3 separate regions of the Homo sapiens genome follow, and regions 1 and 2 are each linked to region 3. Evidence: promoter capture Hi-C in 16 types of primary human blood cells and fetal thymus (Javierre and others, 2016). All regions are on one chromosome and are shown on one strand. The core of a region is centred on a gene start or on the middle of the fragment in contact, and the rest is flanking DNA. Distances in the headings are between cores, read along the strand shown. Region 1 holds the start of ZNF749 (zinc finger protein 749). Region 2 overlaps ZNF772 (zinc finger protein 772). Region 3 holds the start of ZNF45 (zinc finger protein 45).

Evidence for each region. Contacts are between HindIII fragments. The CHiCAGO score rates a contact against its expected background, and 5 or more counts as called.
Region 1: a contact is called between the fragment with the promoter of ZNF749 here and the fragment with the promoter of ZNF45 in region 3, in 4 of 17 cell types (activated CD4 T cells, naive CD8 T cells, total CD4 T cells and 1 more). The highest score is 7.7, in activated CD4 T cells.
Region 2: a contact is called between a fragment that was not itself captured here and the fragment with the promoter of ZNF45 in region 3, in 4 of 17 cell types (non-activated CD4 T cells, activated CD4 T cells, naive CD8 T cells and 1 more). The highest score is 16.8, in non-activated CD4 T cells.

What each region holds. Positions count from the first base shown.
Region 1 is chr19:57,432,684-57,437,191 of GRCh38, reverse strand. It overlaps ZNF749 (zinc finger protein 749), which reads right to left and starts at 1,867. Exons shown (of 3, transcript NM_001023561.4): 1 at 1,599-1,867. The coding sequence starts at 1,613. RefSeq lists enhancers at 1,303-1,352, 1,983-2,282. The HindIII fragment of the contact is 4,352 bases long and covers 1-4,145 here.
Region 2 is chr19:57,471,642-57,476,326 of GRCh38, reverse strand. ZNF772 (zinc finger protein 772) reads left to right here. Exons shown (of 4, transcript NM_001144068.2): 3 at 541-667; 4 at 1,906-4,685. The coding sequence ends at 3,053. Among named protein-coding and RNA genes, the nearest start is that of ZNF772, 3.6 kb to the left of the region's middle. The HindIII fragment of the contact is 6,834 bases long and covers 1-4,685 here.
Region 3 is chr19:43,932,191-43,936,681 of GRCh38, reverse strand. ZNF45 (zinc finger protein 45) reads left to right here and starts at 1,400. Exons shown (of 10, transcript NM_003425.4): 1 at 1,400-1,758; 2 at 1,988-2,256; 3 at 3,992-4,078. It overlaps ZNF45-AS1 (ZNF45 antisense RNA 1), which reads right to left. Exons shown (of 3, transcript NR_184050.1): 3 at 868-4,491. The HindIII fragment of the contact is 8,828 bases long and covers 1-4,491 here.

The sequences.
Region 1 (4,508 bases), core at 618-3,117, about 14 Mb before region 3:
TCACATCCCTGAACCTATGCCTGAGGACAACTGTTTTAAGACATTCTGTTCCTGACTAGCTGTCTCACCTATTATCTTCATGTTTCTGTAATCTATAATATAAATAAGAATGTATAGCCAATAAAAACTTATCTTATTTTAACATAAGTTATTGGTAAACAACTCAGAAACTGCTTCTTTTTTCCTTAAAAAAAAAGCAAACACTTGTCACTGTGGTAATTGAAGTGTATATTCAGGACAACTTGAATCTATGGTCCCAGATGGCTATCATCAACATGTGAACTTGAATAAACTCTCTTTAAACTAGATTCTGACTTGCTTGGTTATTTAAGATTGATATAGTTCCTTACTGTTTAAGTCAATTACCTGTTTTTACATCCCTAAGTTAATGAGTTGTAGGATGGGGCTGAGCAGTCAATCAGTTACTGGTCCGTTCAGCAAACAGGTCAGCCTGCCATATAATGCAGTAAAGGGAGCTTGCTGGAGGCCCTTAACTGTGGTGGAGGATGTGAGAAAGCCCTGCCCAGTTTTGGACCCAGTTGCTGCATGGCCTTATCTTGTTCCCTAAAGAGTGGCCCTCAGGGCCAGCTGAGTTAGAAGGGTGGAGTGACTACAATTATCTCATGCCTCAGTCTCTGTATTCCAGGGCAACTCCTTATCCATCCAGGCCTCTTTTTCAACAGAAACAGACCAGACTCTTAGCCCATATCTGCTCCCTTCTGCAGGGAGTATCAGAGATGCCCTCCCTACCATGGTCTTTCCTCCAAATCTGAGCCCTCCCCTACCTCAGCCCATATGAAAAAACGATGTAGGATTCTTCCTTCTCAATCTGATCCACAGGCCAACTTCTCAAGTGCACAACTTCTAACTCATTTAAAGCTCCAGGCCAGCTACCTTCCCTCACCTTTGGAAATTACGTCCACCTACCCATGTGATGTCGCCCAAAATCCAACCCAGGATCTTCTGTCTGAAACCCGCTCCTTAAGCTGATATCTCTAATTCCATTCTTTCAGATTTTTCAGGCCAAAACAAAACCTATGGAAGACACCATTCACTACCGACTTTCCCTCACAGCTATGTTTGATGCAGCAGGAAATCCTGTTGACCCTATCTCTGAGATCCATCCAGAGTCTCATCACATCTCCCCTCTACTGCAACCCCTCTGGCCCAGCCCTACCATAACTCAAGGGGTCTCCTCAGCGGTCCCCCTGCCCCCGTTCAACATCCTGTTTTCCCCAACTTTAAACTTCTAACTCTGGGCGTGACCCTCCCATTCGTCCTCCCTGCACAGCCCTCTATGGCTCTCTGCGGCTCCACTGCCCTTCCAGGGGAGACTCCGCCTCAACCTCTGCTCCTTGGAGACAAAGACGCTCGGGCTCCCCAGTGCCGCCCGTTCTGCAGTGCCTCCAAGCCCCAGAGACGTGTCGGTCTCCGACGGGAGCTCCCCCGCCTCATCGCACCGCAGTCCCAGTCCCGGGCACCCCACACAAGAACGCCCCTCTCTTAGAGACACAAGGGCCTAACCTGCAGGGCGGCTCCTTGGGACTTCAGCACTGGGAGGAGGGGTTGGGCGGGGCGGCCTGGGACGCTGCACGCACCTCGGTCAGGTTCATCGGCGCGGCCTCCTCCAGTCCACCCAGGGAAGAGCGGGGCGGGAACGGCGGTCACCTGGACGCTGACGGAGGCAGGGGCGCCTGCAGCCGACTCAGCCGATCCGCACTCTAGCCTCTGTGTAGAAGGAACACCGCTTCTCGCGTTTTTCCGCTCTTTCACCTCAGTCCCGACCCAGAGCTCTGGGACCCTCTAAATCAGTGAACAGATCCCTAGGTAGCCATGCTAACGCAACCATGAGGGCGCCGCCAGAAGTCCCGCCCACACAATTGAGACCTCATTAGTCGTCTCTCTGCTAGACCAATGGCTACACTCGCTGCCCTGCCCCCGCAGTGTCTTCTGGGTAATGTAGTTCTCACGTTGCTGCCTGTGTCGCCCGCAGTGTCTTCTGGGTAATGTAGTTCCCACGCTGCTGCCTGCCTCGCCTCACAATGCTGGGCGCGCGGACCTTACGGAAAAAAGCTGGAGGCTCCTGGAGGAGCGTTAAGAAATGCAGTTCCGGGGCTCTTAAGGACGTGGAGGGGCTTTGCTGACTCCTAAACTGCAAGTAACCAGATTTTCCCGGAGAGCAGTCTAGGACAAGTCTGAGAAATATTTCAGAGACCTGTCGTTTCAGATTCTCTGAAGCACAGCAAGTCCCGAAAGGAAGAACATCAGAAGCGACATGGCTGACCATAATGAACTGGTCCTCCATTCATAGCGGTCAGCTCTTTTGTGCTTGTCAAGTACACACATACTGAGGCTCTGGAGACTTTTTTTTGATCGTTAGTGTGCTTCTGTTGGGACAAGAAAGAAAAGACCCACACAGGATGTGATGGAGAGTTGAAGGAGGAATATCTTTCTGTCGACGAAAAGGGTGGAACTTTGTGAAATAGTTGAAGAGATTTATTCTGAGACAAATATGAGTGACTAATGGCCCATGACACGGCTCCAAGATATCCTAAGAACATATGCCCAGGGTGGCCCATCTACAGCTTGGTTTTAACAATTTAGGAAGACGTAAGACATCAATCAATACATGTAAAATGTACATTGGATTCCTCTGGAAAGGCGCAACTGGAAGGGAGGGGCGGGGCTTCCAGGTCAGGTGGGTTCAAAGATTTTCCGATTGGCAATTGGTTGAAAGAGTTTGTATCTAAAGACCTGGAATCAGTAGAAATGGTTGTCTGGGTTAAGGGGTTGTGGGCCGGGCGTGGTATCTCACGCCTGTAATCCCAGCACTTTGGGAGGCCGAGGTGGGCGGATCACCTGAGGTTGGGAGTTCGAGACCAGCCTGACCAACATGTAGAAACCCCATCTCTACTAAAAATACAAAATTAGACGGGCATGGTGGCACATGCCTGTAATGCCAGCTACTCGGGAGGCTGAGGCAGGAGAATCGCTTGAACCCGGGAGGCGGAGGTTACGGTGAGCCGAGATCTCGCCATTGTACTCCAGCCCGTGCAACAAGAGCGAAACTCCGTCTCAAAAACAAAAAAAGACAAGGGGTTGTGAAGACCAAGGTTATATCATGCAGATGAAGCCTCCAGGTAGTCTTATAAGGCCTTATGATAAGGCCTCAGCTCCTGAGCTAAAGCTATCTTCCCACCTCAGCCTCTAGAGCAGCTGGGACTGTAGGTACAGGACACCGTCCCTGGCTTTATTCAGCTTTTTACAATGCACTACAAAAAGTCGGCATTTAGAGCTATTTTTCTCTCACTGCAATTGAGTAGCAGTGAGAGAAAAATTGAGTAGCAATAGTATTGCCATCAGGTGGTGGCAATACTACCTGAAAACCATGCCCCCAACAAATGAAGATTTGGATAATGCCTTATGGTCTCTTCTGCAGGATTAGTGAAGGAAGAACAAAGAAAAGACCAAAAATTAAAACCCATTCTCTTTATATTCAGAAAAGGAAAGGGCTATTTTTTGGCCAAAGCGTTACAATTTAGTTTGCCAACCAGTTTAAAAAAAAAAAAAAAAGGAAAAATTAACTCTGCCCAACTGAAGGTCTGGCAAAAACAAACCTTTGAAAGGGTTGTGGGAAATTAATGAATATTAAACTAATTTTCAACATAACCAGTTAAAAATAAGAAATCCCACTAACGTGGATAGTTCCTTATTTAGGTGTGAGAAATTTGCTATACAAATGGACAACGGCTACACCAAATATAAAAATTGACTCTGACCCATAATCTACACCAACCCATTCAGAAATCTAATGTGGTATCTACAGTAACCACTCCCAAGTCAGAATACTATGTCTAGCAACAAGGCCAGGAAGCCAGACAACATCCCACATAACAACTCGCTTAAAATGGCTAAGACATGACTAAGAACTGACAGCTTTCTAATTGTTGCCCATATGTTCAACTTAGGACCAACTGGAGAAAGTCAGTGCATCACTAGCCAATCACATAGGATGTCAACCTTCTAAATAACCCCTTCACACACACACACACACACACACACACACACACACACACACACTCCTCAAGACTATAGCCTCCAGTCATGGCATACCTAATACTTTACCTTTTATCTACTATGAAGCTTTTTACACCTCTGCTTGCCTTTCAAGCTCTGCTGAGTGCAAGAGATTGTGGATGACTCCTTTACTACGGTGTGGTCTGATTTAATAGGCTATGTTTGTTCTCATTTGGGTCTTCATTTATTTCCAAGTTGTCTGTTTGCAGTCCATGAATGCTACCATTAAGCATACTTCTTACTAATGAAGGTGCAGTGAACAAAGGATTGATATAATTAGATGTGACCATTGTAGAAATTATGTTACAATGTATCATACTTACAGAGGTCCCAGTGAAATAACGTCTAACCTGTTCATCACCATGGGCCATAGTCATCAAACAGGTATAGTAACCACAGAGGTCCTTTATGCTTTGCTCTTCACACCTTGT
Region 2 (4,685 bases), core at 1,274-3,773, about 14 Mb before region 3:
GGGAACCAAGAGCAAGGGGGCGGGAATCATCCTGAAATGGCTTAAAGATGATTATGTAGATTGGGAGTTAAAAGAGAATATTCATTTCACAGTGGTAGTGCATTTAGTGAGCCAGGAAAGTGATGGTGGAGAGCCAGAGTTGTGAGATAACTGTGATCCAAAGAGTGATGTACATATGGAAAGAAGTGTAGACTGATGACGTCTGGGCTTAAAGGAGAAAGGCAAGCCCATCTTTGGTTGTCTGGTAAGCATGATGTTAGTGACCCCAGAGGAATTTGCTTACAGAAGGGTGAGGCCCTGTATGCTAAGCACAGAGCTTAGAGGGTGACAACTTCTTCACCTGCCTGTGGTTGCTATGGGTAGACACAGTGATCCATTGGGACCATGAGGCGAGAGAAGACACCAATGACATCTGGTCCTGATATTTCCTGAGTTGAGGAGTTAGGTAGGAGGGTGTACAGGAGGGAGATGTGTGGGGGCACGGATGGGGGTTCTTGGGAGAGATGCTGCTCATGGACTTGGCTCTCCTGATTGTGGCAGGGGCAGGTGAACTTTGAGGACGTGTTCGTGTACTTCTCCCAGGAGGAGTGGGTGCTCCTTGATGAGGCTCAGAGGCTCCTGTACCGTGATGTGATGCTGGAGAACTTTGCACTTATGGCCTCTCTGGGTAAGGCCGTCACATCCACCCCAGTGACTTGGACTGGGTCCTGCCCTTCCCCTTTTTTTCAGGGCATCTTTGTCCTTCCTACATCAGAGCCGTGGACACTGTCTCATTTCTTAGTGCCTGGAGTAGGTTCTGTGAGTGCTGGGCTTGGGCTGTTTGCACTCCTACTTTCTCCTTTTGAGCATTCCCAGCGCTTGCTGTCTCAGAGCCTTGCAGGCATGGATTCAGGAGTTATGCATTGTATTGTCAGCCCAGTGGGTCATATCCATCTTGTCCTTTCCCTGTCTGAATTCCTCTGTCTGTATCCATGACACCTCTGTGCCTGGGATTCTGCGCTCTTCCTTTAGCTGACATTTCCTGTGGCCTGCCTATGTCAGGAATTGTAGGGACCATTATGGTCGCTACTTGCTAGGACCACTGCACTATTCCTGCAAGACCTTACTCTGAGATTATTTTAATAATATTTAGTTTTCTATATGGGTTACCCAGACCAGTGCTGTTCTATCTTTCCCTTAGGACATACATCTTTCATGTCCCACATAGTTGCCTCACTGGTGATGGGTAGTGAGCCCTGGGTACCTGACTGGGTGGACATGACCCTAGCTGTTGCCACAGAGACTCCAGGTGGGAGTGACCCTGGTGAGTAGGAGCTGGGGAAAGGTGTGATGTCAGGGCTGGGTTCATATCATTCCATAGCCTCTTTGTGCCTACAGTTGTATTAGTGCTAAGGCCACTGGCCTTTCATACTCTGGCCTTTGGCCTCTGGATGTTCCATACCTCTGCCTTCATGTCTCACCTGTTCCTCTCCATGGCTTGTTCTACAGTGCCTTCCAGCATTGGCCTGTACTTAGTGTTTCATGAGATGTGTAGCCCAAATAGTCCTTAAACACCAACTACTGAGTAGCAATTTGATTTTCTTTGGTATGGACCATAACCTTCTGCACAACTCTCACCTGTCCCCAGCAGCCAAGAAAATCTGATTGTGAATGACTTTGAGACCTGCCTCTTTTTTGTGCTGTACCCCACATCTTTGTCCTCTCCCAGTTGAGGCCTTCTCCATTCTATGACATTTAGATGCCAACTACCGTATAGTACACATTTGCTGAACTTGAGTTTGGACCCTTGTCCTAACAACAGTCCTATGACCTTGGTCTTAGTTGTGTTAGACACATATTTGTAGTGAGGCTTCCCCTCTTCCACCTGTGTCAATTTGTACTTCACCAGCATTTCTCTGCTTTCAGGTTGTTGGCATGGAATGGAGGATGAAGAGATACCTTTTGAGCAGAGCTTTTCTATAGGAATGTCACAGATCAGGATTCCCAAGGGAGGTCCTTCTACTCAGAAGGCTTACCCCTGTGGGACATGTGGCCTGGTCTTAAAAGACATTTTGCACTTGGCTGAGCACCAGGAAACACACCCAGGGCAGAAACCATACATGTGTGTGCTGTGTGGGAAACAGTTCTGCTTCAGTGCAAACCTTCACCAGCACCAGAAGCAGCACAGTGGAGAGAAACCCTTTAGAAGTGATAAGAGCAGGCCCTTTCTTCTGAACAACTGTGCTGTGCAATCAATGGAGATGTCTTTTGTGACAGGGGAGGCTTGTAAGGACTTCCTAGCCAGCTCAAGCATTTTCGAGCACCATGCCCCTCACAATGAGTGGAAGCCACACAGCAACACCAAGTGTGAGGAGGCCTCTCACTGTGGAAAAAGGCATTACAAATGCAGTGAATGTGGGAAAACCTTCAGCCGCAAAGACTCACTTGTTCAACACCAGAGAGTCCACACTGGAGAAAGGCCTTATGAGTGCGGTGAATGTGGGAAAACCTTTAGCCGCAAACCCATACTTGCTCAGCACCAGAGAATCCACACTGGAGAAATGCCTTATGAGTGTGGCATATGTGGGAAAGTTTTTAATCATAGCTCTAACCTTATTGTACATCAAAGAGTACACACTGGAGCAAGGCCTTACAAGTGCAGTGAATGTGGGAAAGCCTATAGTCACAAATCTACACTTGTTCAGCATGAGAGTATCCATACTGGAGAAAGGCCATATGAGTGCAGCGAATGTGGAAAATACTTTGGTCACAAATACAGACTCATTAAACATTGGAGTGTTCATACTGGAGCAAGGCCTTATGAGTGCATCGCATGTGGGAAGTTCTTTAGCCAAAGCTCTGACCTTATTGCACATCAAAGAGTTCATAATGGTGAAAAGCCTTATGTGTGCAGTGAATGTGGAAAAGCCTTTAGCCACAAACATGTACTTGTTCAGCATCATAGAATTCACACTGGAGAAAGGCCATATAAGTGCAGTGAATGTGGGAAGGCCTTCAGGCAGAGGGCTTCCCTCATCCGCCACTGGAAAATTCACACTGGAGAAAGGCCTTAGGATGGGAGATAATTCCGTTTCCTTGTTCAACATAATAACTGACATCAGAGAGAAGCTCCAAGCATAGCCTTTATGTGTAGCCGACAGCCAGAAGTAGAACTTTATACACTCAAACACTCACCCTGGGGAGGTTCTTCCGAGTGCCAGCTATATGGGAAGCCTTCTGGAGCTATGCTGAATTTTCTAGACTCTTGCTGGAATTTCGTCAAGGCAGTGCCTGTTAGAAGCCATCTGTCTTTGTGCTGGAAGAGTCCTGCCTTGTGCCAAAGTAACCCCAATGTGTTTCAAAAGACAGACCTCTGTACTATTCCCTTCCCTGGAGGGAATCATCAGTAGCCTGAGGCCATCAAGGATTCTCACTTTTTTTCTGCCCCACTACTGGTTTAAGCATGAGCATGACCCAGTTTTAGCCAGAAAAATGGGAGCTTTGTTCTGCTGACCACTGGCAGAGGTTTCCCTTCATGGATATAGTTGATCTCACATGGCACTTGGGACGAATTTTTCTAGCCTTCAAGACACCTGACCTGAAATTGGCTGCCTCATATTCTGGTTTTGCAACAAATGCCTTAATTTTTAGACTATCTGAAATCTTGAGGATTCTGTTCGCTTTGTGGGTTGGGTTGAGAACAGAATTGAGCTAAGCCAGTATGAAGGGAAGAACAGCTTTTGTGAGAGCTCCAACTATCTGTATCTCTGAAGTGATAGTAGGATGGCAAAGACTAGCTCTTATGCTAGTGTCAAGCTAACTTACTTGACTGCTTCAGCTCTCCTAGGAAAGAATGCCAGTCTTTGTAGGCCTAATCTTTTGGTCTATATGTTAAGATTTTTTGTGTAATTGAGGTCACCCTAAGCAGTGGGCATTTGTTGTGATAATCTCTAATGTGTCTGGGAGCAACATGAATTACGTCCCTTGTTCCCAGAAGATACTTCATATTCCCAAGGCTTCTTGAGGAGAATTTGAACTCAGTGGACATGTCAAGATCTCTGAAGTCTATTTTTCAGTAGGCAGTTGATATTGGCTGTCCTCCAGAAGGCCCAGGTAGGAATCATAGTTGGTGCAGAAACCCAGATTAATAAAGGAATGAGAAAACTGCAGCAAACTATAGGGAATATGACCCTTCTAAAGGTACATCCACATGTGTTTCCATTACTCTGGCTCCATTATGAGGGTTTACAGAAATATTTCCATACCTGTGTCTCTTATGGCTAAGGTTACTGTCCAGAAGTCAGTCTAAACATTTTTGCAATAAACTGCACATATTTATAGTGTACCATTTGATAAGTTTTGATACATGTTGGCACTTCTCAAACCAAAAGTTTCCTGATTCCTTTTATATTTTCTCCCTTTCCTTCACCCATCCCCAGGCAACTATTGATCCGTTGTCACTGTAGATTTGTTTGTATTTCCTAGAATTCTACAGAGATAGAGTAATTTAATATGTATTCTAATGTTTTTGGCTTCTTAAACTCTGAAATTAAGGCTCATGGTGGTGTTCTGTGTTTCATAGTTCATTTCTTTTCATTTGTACTTTGCTAAGAGTGTTCCATTGTAGAGAAATAGTTTCAAAGCAAGTGATCCAGGAGAGAACTCACACAAGAACAAAGCCACAGTATCTGTCATTACCTTAAACT
Region 3 (4,491 bases), core at 151-2,650:
CTCAGGAAAGAATTCAACAGCAAGCCAGCAGCGGAAGAAAGCAGGTTTATCGAATCAACAGTGTTAAAAGCTCAGTGACTGTTCCTTGCAGACCAAGACTAGCCCACAGGCAGTGTGCCCAGAGTAGCAGCATATGGGCTGTTGGCTGGGTATATTTATACCAACTTTTCATTACATGCAAATTAAGGGGTGAGTTACTCGGAAATCTCTAGAAAAGGGGTTGGTAACTTCCAGGTGTTGCCATGGCATTTATAAACCGTCACGGCGCTGGTGGGAGTGTCTTATACTGATAGGTAGCAAAGGGAACTTACAGGTTGCTTTCCATCACTTGCTGGTTTCAGCAGGTTTCTTATCTGATCTTGGAATCACGCCCTGCTGGTCTCCTGCCTCAGCCTAAATTGAACATTGTTCAGATGTTTACAGCTACTCCTATGTAGTCAACTTCCATTTTTTCTTCTTTACCCTTTCATAATAAACTTGGAAAAATATTTAGTTTCTACCTAGGAGAAAAGTGAATAGTATAGCTTTCTGTATTTTTTGCACTTCATGTCTTAATCCCTCACTTCACCTCCCTCTCCTTACTGAATATTCATAGACACTTTGGCAAATCATAAGACACCTTTACAGATTCCTGATTCTGAGAGCAAGAAGTGATGTGATTCCTTAATCTGAACTGAATGTTTTCAAGATTTTATATAGGATAGAGCCTATTCAATACTATAATACTTTCTTCAGTATCCTGCGAATGAAAGAAAACTAAGCGCAAGAAAAGTGGAGAATTTTGCTGCTTTTGTTTCATGTCCTGCTGGATGATTGCATCTCCTTTTTTGAGCATTTTTAATCACAGATGAATCCATACCCATATTATAAAAGGCTTGTTGCTCTGGGCGGCTCTGGCCACCTCTTTTATTACCTCTGTTTTTAGCTCACACATAGCATTCCTTTGTATTTTCCTTTTTTTTTTTCATATTCGCAACTTCTGTCACGTATAAAAGGGAACAATGGCAAAAGGAAAAAGCAGGCTGAGCTCTACAAGCAATGACTTAGACTCCCCCCGCTAATTCAAAAGGAAAATTGCAGGCTGGCGGGAAGCTCAGCCCTACAGAGGATTCTGGGACGTGTGGTCCAGACTTTTGGGGGCACTTCAGCTCTGGGAAAGCGCGGCTTTGTTATTTGCTCCCCTGGGGAAATAGGAACCTATACCCCAGTGCTCAGTGGGTTCGGTGGTACTTCGACTATTTGAGGACGAGAACACGAAGCCCGCTCCCCTTGGGGATTCTGAGAAATAAGATTCGGCCGTGGGAGTCGAAGCCCGCACTTCCGCCCAGGGGGCGGGGCAGCGGCTTCCGTTCCTCCCGGGGATGCTGGGAAATGTAGTTCCAGAGCTCCCTGCTCTCCCGGGCACTTCCGCGGCAAGAGGTTGAGAGCGCGGCCTTCATTCCTCTCGTGGAAGTGAGTGAGTCCTGGGACCCCGCGACCTGTTTTAACTTTTATGGTTTGGTCGTAGGATCAGCAGGGCTCGCACTTCGGTCAGCAGGAAAAGACGCTGCGGCGAGCAGCGGAGGGCGGAGTTGAATGGCTGGGCAGCTGATTGCCTTACTGTATCCGGAGCTGCTGCGTTCGGGGCGGTTCGGGAGTCCCCTGGTTGGAAGTGGACCTGAATGGGGAGGCGTCTGAGGATCTCCTGGGCTCTCAGCGGCCCGACCCGCCTTCCCCCACCTCCCACAGCTCTGTAGCTTCCTAGCGGTGTAACGTTGGGTGAGAACTTAATCTTTCGGTGCTTAGTTTCTGGTCTTAGTTTCCTCTTCTGCAAAAGGAAATATTAACCTTATATATTTGTTTTGACAATTAGTAATATAGTACAAGTAAAATGTGTATGGAATAGTACAGGAATGTGGCAACATGTCGGCCGTTAATATTAAAACTATCATAATAAAAAATATTCATTTTTCAGCAAGCGCCTGGCTCTTCTTTCTGATTCCTGCAGGAAAGGAGGCTGTTCTTGGACTATGCCTGACCCGTTTTTTAAGAAAGAGTGCATCACTCAACAGGTGGCGTCTGGAGTTATCCTCTGTGGATTTTCCAGGATCTCAGACAAGATCGTGCAATCTCCCAGCCTCCTTTCCTTCCCCTGCCCTGACTTCTGAAAGAATGCTGCGGGAGAGGAGGAAGGAGAGCATCCTGGCTTCTGGCAGCAGAGCCCCACTGTGACAGGACCTAGCATTCACCTTCCTCTTCTGTTCCGAGTGCGAGAAGGTATTTCATTCCTTGCAAATGTTTCTGCTACAGAAGTGTTCCGTTATTGTATAATTGGAGAAAATGTGACATGAATATTAGTCACACTAGTTAAACATTGGGTGCTGAGTATCACTCTGAGGGCTTTATAAAAACTAACACACTGAACCTTCACAAAGGCCTTGTGTTGTGGGTTCTGTTCACCTTACAAAGGTGATGTGGGTATTGTGATATGGGTACTGTTATTACACCAATTATACAGATGAGGAAATGGAGAGAGCCTAATTTACTTTCCTATATCACAGTGCTAGTAAGAACAGTGGGATTTGTGTCCTAGACTTGGGTTCCTTACATCTGAATACCCTTGGTCTCACAGTTTGAAATCCCAATTTAGAATTAGGAAATAAAATAGATAAATGATCCATATAAATAATCATAGGAAACTGGCTGCAGAGGAGCCATTTGAGATCAAGTTGGGGAGGGAGGTTGGAATTTTACTGTAGAAGATTTTGAAAGCAAGGTTGAGTTTAGACTTTAGAAAATTTTGAAAGAATTCTCATTTAATTTTAAGCAATATTAGTAGTTCATATTTTGATCATAGAGATGCACGTTCTCTGTACAGGATGTAGAAAATACAGAAATATAAAATATTACAAATTTCCTTAATACTAGGATATAGATAATTATTAACATTTTAATGCATTTCTGTTTAGCAGTTTTTAATGTGTTTTTGTCTGTGTTTTATGAAATTGTTATCACACTATTCATAGTGGGTTGTTATTCCCTTATTTTTTACTATGGAAATATCCAAACATACCCAAATATAATGAACTCTTATGTACAGTCACCCTGCTTCCATTCTTGCTAATCTTATTGCCTCTCCCACCAACTTTTTTTCCCTTGAGTATTTTAAAACAAACCCAGATGATGAGTCAGTAAGGCTTAAAAACTAATAATTATCATTAATTGTGTTTTTTGTTTTTTGTTTTTTTTGAGATGGAATCTTGCTCTGTTGCCCAGGCTGGAGTGCAGTGGTACGATCTCAGCTCACTGCAACCTCTGCCTCCTGGGTTCAAGCAATTCTCCTGCCTCTGGCTTTACAGGTGCCCGTCACCACGCCCTGCTAATTTTTGTGTTTATAGTAAAGACTGGGTTTCTCCATGTTGGCCAGGCTGGTCTCAAACTCGACCTCAAGTGATCCGCCCACCTCAGCCTCCCAAAGTATTGGGATTCCAGGTGTGAGCCACCATGCTAGGCCTCACTAATCGTTTATATATGAAGGCCAAGGGAGGGGCAATTATATTCATTTGCCAGGGCTGCCATAAGAAAATACTACAAATTGGCTGGATTATACAGAAATGTATTTGTTACAGTTCTGGAGGCTAAAAGTCCAAAATCAAGGTGTCACCAGTTTTGGTGGCTTGTAAGGCCTCTCCCCTCTGTGTGCGTGAGCTCCCTTGCTGTAAGTCAACTTCATCACCTCTTTAAAGGCCCTATTTCCAAAGACAGTTATTTCTGAGATACCGAGCGTTAGGACTTTAACGTTTTGAGAGAGGCACACACAATTCAGCCCATAATAGATATTAACAGTAACTCTGAGGTTTTTCACTCCTGGCAGCTAGGAGAATGCTACTTATGTGAGAAAGCTAGAAAGAGTTGCAATTAGGAAAAGAAAGATGATTGATTTTCTTTGCTTTTTTGGAGTTGCACTTGCCACTGGCATATAACTCTTGGTTTCCTATCTCTCTCCCATTAGACTTCAGGGACCTCTGTTTCATGGACATTATCATATTCTTCTCAAGAGTACCCAGCAAGAGGTTTGCAAAGAGGAGTTATTCAGTGAGTAAGTGATTCATGTAGCTCTCCAACAGGCATCTGGATTTTGGGTGCTACAGCTTGCAATTAGAGAACAAAATAGAAGGATTATCCACAGTCCTTGTCTGTTATCTCACGTTTGGTGGGCTGTAGAATCCATCAACTTTTTCAGGGTATTCAAAAGTTGATGAACAATTGTGGATAATATTGTCAAGATCTAAAACAAACTCCCTTAAAGACAAATCAGACCACTATTAAGGTTCAGTTTTTTGGGTTTTTTGGTTTGTTTGTTTTTTGAGACAAAGTCTTGCTCTGTCACCCAGGCTGGAGTGCAGTGGCGCGATCTTGGCTCACTGCAACCTCCGCCTCCTGGGTTTCAGCAATTCTCCTGCCTCAGCCTCCCCAGTAGCTGGGATTACAGGCGTGCACCACCATGCCCAG